Regions from separate parts of the Homo sapiens genome. Here all the other regions are linked to region 1. Evidence: promoter capture Hi-C in 16 types of primary human blood cells and fetal thymus (Javierre and others, 2016). All regions are on one chromosome and are shown on one strand. Each heading gives the region's core, a stretch centred on a gene start or on the middle of the fragment in contact. The rest is flanking DNA. Distances are from core to core; before and after follow the strand shown. Region 1 holds the start of EXOSC2 (exosome component 2). Region 2 overlaps LAMC3 (laminin subunit gamma 3). Region 3 has its middle 22 kb from the start of FIBCD1-AS1.

What was found. The method cuts DNA at HindIII sites, captures the fragments that hold promoters and counts their contacts. A CHiCAGO score of 5 or more calls a contact.
Region 2: a contact is called between a fragment that was not itself captured here and the fragment with the promoter of EXOSC2 in region 1, in 3 of 17 cell types (M0 macrophages, M2 macrophages and endothelial precursors). The highest score is 5.8, in M0 macrophages.
Region 3: a contact is called between a fragment that was not itself captured here and the fragment with the promoter of EXOSC2 in region 1, in 1 of 17 cell types (endothelial precursors). The highest score is 5.4, in endothelial precursors.

Annotation. Positions count from the first base shown.
Region 1 is chr9:130,691,591-130,695,029 of GRCh38, forward strand. EXOSC2 (exosome component 2) reads left to right here and starts at 2,190. Exons shown (of 9, transcript NM_014285.7): 1 at 2,190-2,323. The coding sequence starts at 2,202. RefSeq lists an enhancer at 2,253-2,442. The HindIII fragment of the contact is 5,769 bases long and covers 1-3,439 here.
Region 2 is chr9:131,012,352-131,015,790 of GRCh38, forward strand. All of the region lies in intron 1 of LAMC3 (laminin subunit gamma 3), which reads left to right. Among named protein-coding and RNA genes, the nearest start is that of LAMC3, 4.9 kb to the left of the region's middle. RefSeq lists enhancers at 1-450, 451-1,018, 1,019-1,586. The HindIII fragment of the contact is 5,876 bases long and covers 1-3,439 here.
Region 3 is chr9:130,960,319-130,963,757 of GRCh38, forward strand. No RefSeq gene overlaps it. Among named protein-coding and RNA genes, the nearest start is that of FIBCD1-AS1, 22 kb to the left of the region's middle. RefSeq lists a silencer at 271-445 and enhancers at 2,158-2,745, 2,746-3,332. The HindIII fragment of the contact is 504 bases long and covers 1,428-1,931 here.

The sequences.
Region 1 (3,439 bases), core at 940-3,439:
AGATATTCGGGGTTTACAGCCTCAATGCCTAAGGAATCTATACTTTTTACAAGCCCCCTGGGATGTGCTGCTTCGTCTCCGGGTACCCACTTGTCTACTGGTCGTAAAGGGGTAAGTGTGGCCGGGCTTGGTGGCTCATGCCTGTAATCCCAGCACTTTGGGAGGCCAAGGTGGGCGGATCACTTGAGTTTAGGAGTTCGAGATCAGGTTGGGCAACACGGTGAAACCCTGTCTTCACAAGACAAATACAAAAAATTAGCCGAGCCTGGTGGCATGTGCCTGTAGTCCAAGCTATTCAAGAGGCTGAGGTGGTAGGATTACCTGAGCCCAGGAGGACGAGGCTGCAGTAAGCCATAATCGTGTCATTGTACTCCAGCCTGGGTGACAAAGACTCTGTCTCGAAAAAAATAAAAATAAAAAAAGGTGCGTGTGATGATGCAGAAAGAGGAGCACTGGGGATGGGAGAGGGGGAGTCCCTGTCGTTTTGGATTCTAGTCCCAGTTACGGGTCTGTTTGGGGGGCTCGGTGGCCCCAAGTGATCATCAGGGATAGCAATGCCTATCTCGAAGATGGGCTGAAAGTGAGGAATACATAACATAGTATTTGTAAAGCACTCAGCAAAGGACCAGCCGAAGCACTCGGGCTATTTCTGGTAAAGGGTGCAGGCTCTGGGGTAAATCGCGTGCAGTTGGAACACACATCGGCTTTGCAGCCATCTGCTAATGTGAATTCCATTCCTTTTGGGGCCTCGATTTCCTCCTCCATAAACTGGTATCCACAATGCCAACCTTGTGAACGCTGTGAGAATGCGCGGGGTAAAGGCGACGTCTCTCCCTCCCGGGAAGAACTTGGATGGTGTCAGGCCTACACTCTCGCTCCGCCTAGGGCCGCTCGCTGGGCCTGGCTCCCCGGCTGCCGGGCTACGCGAGCTCAGAGGACACCATCGCCCTCTTATGGCCGCGGCAGGACTGGACCGAGGGGCTGGGCTCTAGTGCCTTCCTCCAGGCACGGCAGAGGGCGAGGGTCTGGCAGCCCGCTTACCCAGGGCCTCGGGGCACTAGCATTCATGTCATCGACTGCCTGGCAGGGCTGGCTTTCTTAAGTGTGGTCGTGAGACTTGCTTAAGTGGAAGAAATGCTGTCGCTTTGGAGATTTATAAAACAATTGGCTCGATGGATCTTTCTTCAGGAGGCGGACTTGGTTTACCGGCTTTACTGACCACAGCTGATGCCAATGATTTCATTTAATCGTCTTTAGAGTCCCTGTGCATGGGGAGTTACCATCCCCAATTAGTTTCTTGTGAATGCAGGGCAAGGAGAGGGAGAGGGTAGTGGGGGACGGGGAGAAGGGGCGAGGGGTACCCTCCTATTAAAACGGAGCCGCAGAAAAACCCACAGAGACATCCGTCTGTTCCCCGCTGAGTCCTTAGAACAGCGCCTGGCACACAGAGAGCGCTCAACTCGCTGTGTAACTAAATGCAAGCCAAGATCTTCGCATTGTGTGTGCTCTTCCCTTCCCTACCAAATATACCTGGCTTGCAAGGTTTGACCTGTTTTCTTAGACGATTTTTAACTTGTTTCCAAAAGAAATATTGGAGTAAATTAGCTTGTTCAAAGGAGTCCTTATGAAAGGACAGAACCAAGTGAGAAGTATCTGGAGCCCGGTTTGGGGTTATAGATGATGATGTTGAGCCAGCACCCACGGGGCGGCCGCAATGTAGAATCCTGGCGCTACTGGGAACCGTGTGGAAAGGGGCTCTTCTTTCTGTTCAAATAGTGTTTTCTGTAGATCCCATCTCTCCATCCTCCTGAGCTCTCTCTTACAAAATATCGGATTTCAGCAGCTTAGAATTGGACAGAAACTCAGAGGTCCGTTTCTCAATTATCTCTAACCCTGGTAAACAATAAATGGGATGATGAGTACAAGACAGTTTTGGTAAAAAGTCACACGCCACACAACGTGAGATTTTATTATTCCACGGGTGCTTCCTTGCCAATAGTAGACATGGCAGCTCGGCTCCCTTCCCTTCGGGTTCGCCTTATTGTTGCCAATTGTAAACATGGCCTCTAGGCCGTGAGTTCTCATTGGCAGCTGCTCTGAGTCCCCGCCCTTCCCCGCCCCTCCGAACGCGGCCTGGAGTTGTGGAGTCGGATATCGCAGCTCCCGACTGAGCTGCGCCTGCGCAACTCATTGGCGCCAAGATGGCGATGGAGATGAGGCTTCCAGTGGCTCGCAAGCCTCTTAGCGAGAGACTGGGCCGCGACACTAAGAAACATCTAGTGGTGCCGGGGGATACAATCACTACGGACACAGGATTCATGCGGTACGTGGGGACTTGGGGGAGTCGAGGCTTCAGAGAGCGGCTTCAGGGCTCTCTGCACGTGGTCCAGGCCTCGTATCCCTGTGTGTGTAACTCCCCGCGGGACCCAGGGCACTTCGTCTGAGCATCCTACACACCTCGCTTCCGAGCCTCGTGCTTCTTGCTCCCTGCATCTTGTGTGTCCCCGTCTGCATTTGTCTCAGCTCCCTGAAACCCTCCACTCCTGACCTCCGGTGGCTGTGACTTTTGGGTCTTCTGCCTGAAGTCCAAATCTTTGATCCTTCCTTGTGGGAGACCTGGAAAGCTGGGGAGGGTTAGGTGCAGGCTCTTTTCCAGTTTTCAGCTCTCTGAGGGGACGGTGGGCGTTCTTGGCTGCCTCCTCTTCAGTTTAGAATCCGTAATTGTTCGATCTTAGGGCAAACAGTTACATTGTGCTGCATGCACCCATTTATACACATTTTGAATCTAAGGGGTGTAGTGCAGTGTATTGTGGTTAAGAGGGAAGGCTCTTGAGTCAGACAGTTGGGGTTCCGGTCCTGCTACCATCACATCTTATTAGCGGCATTGCCTCTCCACGGTCAGTTTCCTCATCTGTAAGATAGTGATAATAACAGTATGATACGGTAATGAGGATTAAATGAGACAATTATGTAAGAAAAGAAGTAAAACCAGCCATTATATCATCATAGATAACACTAGTGTTTCAACCTTTATTATTATTATTTTTTTACTTGTATATGTACAAGGGGCACAGCATTCATAGCATTGCCCTTTAACCTGTTAGTTTAAGGTTAGTGGATACCAGGAAATTTTTTTTTCTTTTTTGAGACGGAGTCTGTCTTAGATCAGTCGTGCGATCTCGGCTCACTGCAACCTCTGCCTCCTGGGTTCAAGTGATTCTCCTGCCTCAGCCTCCTGAGTAGCTGGGATTACAGGTGCACGCCACCATGCCTAGCTAATTTTTGGTTTTTTTTTTTTTTAGTAGAGACAGGGTTTCACTGTGTTGGCCAGGCTGGTCTCGATCCCCTGACCTCAAGTGTGATCTGCCCGCCTCGGCCTCCCAAAGTGCTGGGATTACAGGCATGAGCCACCATGCCTGGCCCCTAGGAAATCTTAAGA
Region 2 (3,439 bases), core at 354-2,853, 320 kb after region 1:
TACCGTACGGATAAGAGTCGCCACTTCCTGAGCAGCTGTTCGGGTTCATGAGCCCGGGTCGGAGCCATGGCAGTCCCTGTGTGTGACCAGCGTGGCTGCTGAGACAGCTCAGGGCTGAGGCTCCCTTGCGGGGATTGAGAAATGCTCGTCCCGGCCGCCCTGCCTCCTCAAAGACATCCTGACGCTGGTCTCTGTTTACGCACAAGGGGCGCCGGGGGCCCAGCGCAGCCCCAGATTTGGCCTCTTTTTGGTTTCCTATGACTTAGGTTTGCTCCAGGCTAAGCCATGGCTTGCATAATAGCGGGGGAAGGAGAGGCCTGGGATTGTCGGTGTCCCCTGTGGAGGCCGTCTGATGACCTCTCCTCCTGGTCCTTAGGCCACCTCTGCTGGCTCTGTCCCCCCACTGCTCCCTCTCCTTGAAGGCTCATGGGAAGGGAGAGTGGGCGGCCAGCTCTGGCCCGGGGTCTCCTAGAGGGAATGGGGTGAGGGGCAGGGAAGGAGATGGAGGTCGCCGCATTCCCAGCCCCCCGTGGCTCCTGGACATCTGTTCCGGATCCTCCCGTCATCTCTGAGCTGAGCCTTCCTGTCTGGGATGAAAGGCAGCAGTGGGCTCTGGCAGCCCCAGCCCACCACCAAGGCCCAGGGAGGCCACGGGGCTGGGGCCTGGGAGTCAGTGGGGTGTTGGGGGAGTGGACAGTGACGGGGGTACAGACCATTCCGGGGCTCTCACCGTGTACCAAGGACTCGCCCAGGCGGCATCCCAAACCGGCATGCTTTGTTCTTTTACAGACAGCAAAACTGAGGCACTGAGGGTGAGATCAGTTGCTTGGGGTCGCACAACTCAATAAATGGTGGCCCCCGGGACCCTCCCCCTAACTGCTGTACTTGGGAATGAAGAGGGTCCAGGCTAGGCTGGTCCACATGCTTGAAGCCTCGGTCCTGGGAGGAACAGTATGGGCTGTGGCTTTCGGTGGGCTGGGGGAGTCTCCTCCCGGCTTGCACTTGGATCGCTGAGAATCTCCTGGAACCACAAAAAGACCTGAGTCCCCCAAGCAGATGAGTTCTGCCCTCCCTCCCCCGCAGGTCCCGGATGTCCCTGCATGGAGTTGACTTCTTCTTGCTTTCATTTAGCCGTTTGCTTGGTGGTCACCCAGCCTTGGCTCACTGGCCACAGGATGCAGCTGTGAACAGGGCCATGTGCGGCCCCTGTCCTGAGGGGCTCAGGGCCCACCAGAAGGCAGCCTTTACTGAGCAGTGCTGAGAACGAGGATGTATGCTCAGAACATGCACTGGTGCGCACGAGCCTCATCTCTAGGGTCAGGAAGGGTCTCGCTGAGACCTGAAGGATGGTAGGAGCTGACCAAAGAGGGAAGGATGTTCTTCGACCTGCCGGGCCTGGATGGCCTGAGTGCAGACACCGAGAAGACGCTGGGGTCTGGCCAGCCACAGCGAGGAGCCGGGTCCCAGGGTGCTGGACATTAGGGGGACCCTGTGGCCCCTGAGGGGTCCTGGAGCCAGCTGGGTCTCCTGAGCCTTGGCTCCGTTCTGTCTTCCTGTCGAGTGGGCGGCTGCGATTGCCTTGGCCTGGGCCAGTGCTGGGGGCCAAGTCCTCCCTCCTGCTCCCTGGGGGTTCTGGCTGGAACGCTGGGCCCTGAGCAGGGCAGGAGGTCAAGGCAGCGGCTGGTTAGCCTCCATCCACCCACAGAACTGCCCTCCAGGCCCCTGGGCCCAGCTGGCCTTGGCCACCTCTTTCTCTCTGGGCCTCCCAGGACTAATCCAGGAGATGCAGGGCTAGGAAGTGGCAAAGCCCAGGATGGGTGTAGCCAGCCTCCCATGGCCTCTGCATCATCCCTGTCCACTTCCCACACTGCCCTTCAGCAAGGCCTTGGCTGGGCCGAGGCACTCTCTCTCCTCCAGCGCCTTACATGTGCTGTGGCTTCGGCCCAGCGCACTTCTCCTCCCACCTTCAGCCTAACTCATGTCTTGTTCATCCACAAAACCATTGCATGTCTGCCGATCCCTGTGCTGAGCCCTGGGGATGTCTGTCTGCCCCACTCAGCTTAGAGGTGCCTCCTCTGGAAAACCCCTCACCCCTCTAAGGTTGGGCAGAAGGCCTGCCCACGCATCCTTGCAGCCCCTAATCCTCCTTCCACCAGAGTCTGGATTACACTGCGTGAGGGCTTGGTCTGTTTACGTCCATCCCTATCTCTGGGCTGCCAGAGGGAATGCCTGTTTTCACACCTGTGCCCCAGTAGTGCCCAGCCTGCATTTGCCCACTGCACAGGGTGCTGGGTAAAGGTTGGTCAGGCGAATGAATGGAAGAGCAGCTCAAATTTCATTGAGGCTGGGTGAGGCTCACACCTGTAACCCCAGCACTTTGGGAGGCAGAGACGGGAAGATCACTTGAACCAGAAGTTCAGGGTCAGCCTGGACAACAAAGTGAGACCCTGTCTTTACAAAAATAAAAATAGAAATGAAAAAATTAGCCGGGCGCGGGGGCAAGTGCCTGTAGTCCCAGCTACTTGGAAGGCTGAGGTGGGAGGATCGCTGGAGCCTGGGAGTTCGAGGCTGTAGTGATCACACCACTGCACTCCAGCCTGGGCAACAGAGCGAGACCCTGTCTCAGAAAAAAGAAAAATGTAGTTGAACAAATGCTTCGTGCCTGGGACTGTTCCAAGTGCTTCCAAGGCATTTGCTCATTTAGCCCTGTTATTGTTATGCCTATTTTGCAAATGGGGAAACCAAGGCACTACATTGCACAGTCACTTGCCCAGTGAACCCGAGGGAGTTCAGCTATTTTGCCCAAGGCCACAGAGCCAGGAATTGGTGGGGCTGGGCTGTGAACCCCAGGGTTGCAAGATTGCACTGTGTTTCCTCGCTCAGAGCAAGGGAGTGAGGAATTCATGGATGAAGGGCCCCCAGCCTTGCAGGTGCCTCCCGTACTCCTAAGCCACGGTGTTCACAGCAGTGCCGCCGTCCTCCCAGCCCAACCCTGCCCTGCCCTGCTCTCCCTTGCCCAGGCTTCAGCTGCTTGGTCTACCTCCCTTCCCTGTGGCCCCTTGTCCCCGGGCAAGCCCTCCCAGCAGCCATGCCCTTCCCCAGCTCATGCCCTGGCTTTGCTTATTTGAATCATAGTCGACATCCAGGACTCCACCTGCACCCCTCGCCCTGACTCGGTCTCCACCTGAGCCCTCGACTGGGTAATTTGAGCAGCCGCCTTGACACCAACCACTCTGAATGTCATGCAAGGGCCCCCGTGTGCAAAGGCTATGCAAGGGCCCCTGTGTGCATAGCAGCATTTTCTTTTCTTTTTTATTTTTTTGAGACGGAGACTCGCTCCACCGCCCAGGCTGGAGTGCAATGGTGCGATCTCAGCTCACTGCAACCTCCACCTCCCAGGTTCAAGCGATTCTCCTGCTTCAGCCTCCCAAGTAGCTGA
Region 3 (3,439 bases), core at 430-2,929, 270 kb after region 1:
AGAATCATTAAATCACCAAGGTTCAGCACCAGAGAATCTTGAATCGTGAAATCACAACCCCCCGCAAGATGTTTGGGAGAATGTTTTTGTCAAAAAAGAGAGATAACAAATGGCAAACGAAGTAGAAAATGTTTCCCAAACGTGAGGACGGCTGATTTCTTTGTGCCGCCTTGGATGATGGGTGCGGGGTGCCTGGTAGGGGTGGAAACTGAAGGGGGTTGGAGAGACATTGCAAAGCTGCCAGGACACCTGCTTCTTCTCGAGCAAGAACCCAGAGACATGACTAGCTACTCCAGATGTCACCAACCCCCTCCGCCTTCTCATACTAACTTCCATCCCTGCTGATAGGTCCCCACAAGCCTGGGGCTCGGCTGTGACCAAGAAGAGCACCCTTAGCCCCCACACCCAGCCCAGCTACACTTTCCCCATCTGTGAAATGAGGTGTCTGGATTCGACTGTGGTTGGAATACTCTGTTCAAATGTGACTTCATACAGAACCACCCCCGTCCCAAGGGTTGGGAGGTGGTTATTGAAGGGCCCAGGGCACCCTGCTGGCCTCCCATTCCCCCTCCAGCAGCCCCTGCCTTCAGCCCCCGCAGAACCTGAGACTGCAGAACACATCTTCAAATCCCTGACCCAGATGGATGCTCTGTGGATTAACATCCCAAACTTCTGCACATCGGGGAGGCCTCCCTTCTCACACAACAGATTGACATTGGCCCATTCCAACTGGGCCCAGGCTCCTGGCCAGCCTCGCCGGCGATTCTGACTGGGCCCAGGACAGCTGAGCCAGGGTCCCCAGACATCAAGGGGGGTGGGGGGATGCAACTAGAGTAAGGGGATGTGTCTCTTGAAGGAAGGGGCTCTTCCGAGGATGGACCCTGGGACACTTGGGGCTCCATAGTGCTGCTTTGGGGTCCAGGGACCAGGCCTTGACCCAATGCAGGTCCTCAATCAAGGGCAATTGGACAAATGGCACCAAGTGGGGGTGGCCAATCTCATGCGTCCCTGCTGACGCTGGTGGTGCAGGGAGTCCTGAGGCAGAAGGGGGCCGGCATCCCTGGGCACTGGGAGTGTCAGTGGGGCTTATATCTGGGTTGGGACAGGGGTGAGTGGGAGGGATTTGGTCTCGTTTCAGAGAGAACCAGGAACCCACTGACAGATTTTAAATGGGAGCCCCACGTGATCAGATGGTACTTGGAAGTTCACTCTGATCCTGAAGGGAAATGGATCGAGGGGTTGGCTGGGGCTGCACAGAGGCCAGGAGAGGTGATGTGGCTTGGACCAGGGTTGGGAGGAGGATGACAAAGTCAGCAGGGCCTAAGGGCTAGAAACATGTTTAGGAGAGACAGGCTTCAAGGAGAGCCCCTCGGCGAGTGTCTGGTCCGGGCCTTTTGACAATGGGATGCTATTCACCTCAGCAGGGAAGCTTGGGTGAGGACCAGGCGTTTGGGGTAGATCTGAAGCTCCATATTGGATGTATTGAGCTGTGGGGGAGCCCTGGAACACCCCATGGGGGAAGTTGAGGAGGAAGTAAGACACCCAGAAGTGAAATACAGTATGGCTGGGCTACAGGCAAAGGCTGGGCTGCAGGGACAGGTTGTGCTGCAGGTACAAGCTATGGGGACAAGTTGTGCAGCAGGTACAGGCTACAGGGACAGGCTGTGCTGCAAGTAGAGGCTACAGGTACAGGGTGTGCTGTAGGGACAGGTTGTGCTGTAGGGACAGGTTGTGCTGTAGGGTCAGATTGTGTTGTAGGGACAGCCTACAGGGATGCACTGTGCATAGTCTATACATCACAGGTAACTGAGGATGAATGGGTCAGTGCTGAGACCAGGACAAGGCATGGGGCTGAGTCTTGGGGACCTGCCACTTGAGAATTCTAGGTCACCGCCATCCTTCACCAGGCCAAGATGAAGCATGAGAGGAAAAGCTTCCTCTGCTTCACGGCCTGTGAAGACATCAATAAGGACTGGCGGGCTCCTTATGAGAAACACTTGGAGACCCCAGAAATATCAGGGGTGAGCTGAGAGTAGGCTGTGGTCCCAAGGTCATGTCAATGGGGGTGGGGGAGCAGTGAAACAACGGCCATGCAGTTCCTGTTGCTGTGTCAGAGCTCACAGCCAGCAGGCCTGGACCTCTGGACTCAGGTGTGTCCACGGCAGCCCTTCCAAGATGCCCTGATTCAAAGAATGCGGGATCTCCGAGTCTCAGGCAGTTATTTTGGAGTCAATGACAGGGACCCATCTTATCCCATCTCTGTGCACCCCCACTCCCAGGATGTCCCCATCTGACCTTCCACTCCAGCTGTGGCTCCTGACATAGGTTGGGGAACAGAGGGACTGAGGGAGGAGGGGGCAGGCCTCCCATTCTGTCCAACAGAGGCTTCCTGGAATGGGGCAGGCAGACTGAGTCACATCCCTGTGACTCACGTGGCCCGTCAGACATTCTCATAATATTAATAATGAAAGGGCAGCTCCCTCGGAGACCGCAGGCCCACACTTGGCTCTGGCAAGAGCTTGGAATGCCAAGTTTTCCTAGGGACGCCACCAGACAGATGAGGGAGCACCGGCTGCAGTGGGCAGGGCAGCTTTCGCGGCAGCATGCCCCCGCCCCGGGGGGCTGTCTGGGATGTCTTTAAGGATGCTTTGTTAAGCCCCATTAAATATGCATCAGCCCCCATTAAACTTTAATGTCCCACTTATAGGTGTCACATTTTTCACCTCCTCCTGGGATGGGAGCCACGGAGAACTGACGTCTGGCACTTGGGGACCCAGGCAGGGGCTGGGCTGTGAGCAGCCTGGCAGTGCGTCCCTCGGCCAGCACCCAGGCCTAGGGCAAGGGCCGTGGGAGATTGTGCCCCTGCGGCGTGCGGTGTCTCATGCCCCAAACCTCACCACTCCCCTCCCCAAGGCTGGAGAGCTCCACCATGATAGTCGGAAAACTGTCAAGAACCAGACAGTAAATGTTTTAGACTCTGCATATGCATCTTTGATTTCCTTTTTACAACCCTTTAAAAATGCGAACACCATTCTTAGCTCACTCTATTAAAGAAAAAAAAATGATTCAATGGCACTTGTTAGGAGACATGGTTAGGAAAACTTTATTCAGAATCATCAAGGACCATGGCAAGGGAGCCTGAGGCTTGGGGGATTGGGCTCAACTCCAAACACAGCCTGGACAAGTGGAGATTAATAGCCGAGGAGCAGGGTGCGGGGCGGGGGGGCGGGGGGTCAGCGAGTGAAAAATCCCCACGAGGAAACATTAGAGGAAAGGAGGATTCTGCCTAAACCAGCCCAGCAGGATTCTTGCTGATGGGCCAGGGGATCAGATCACCTCGGGGATGGTGGAGGATGAGGAGCCTGATCGGATATCCAGTTTAGGGGTTCTGACCACACTGATTTAGCAGGGTTCTTTGCTAAAACTGGATTTTACAAGG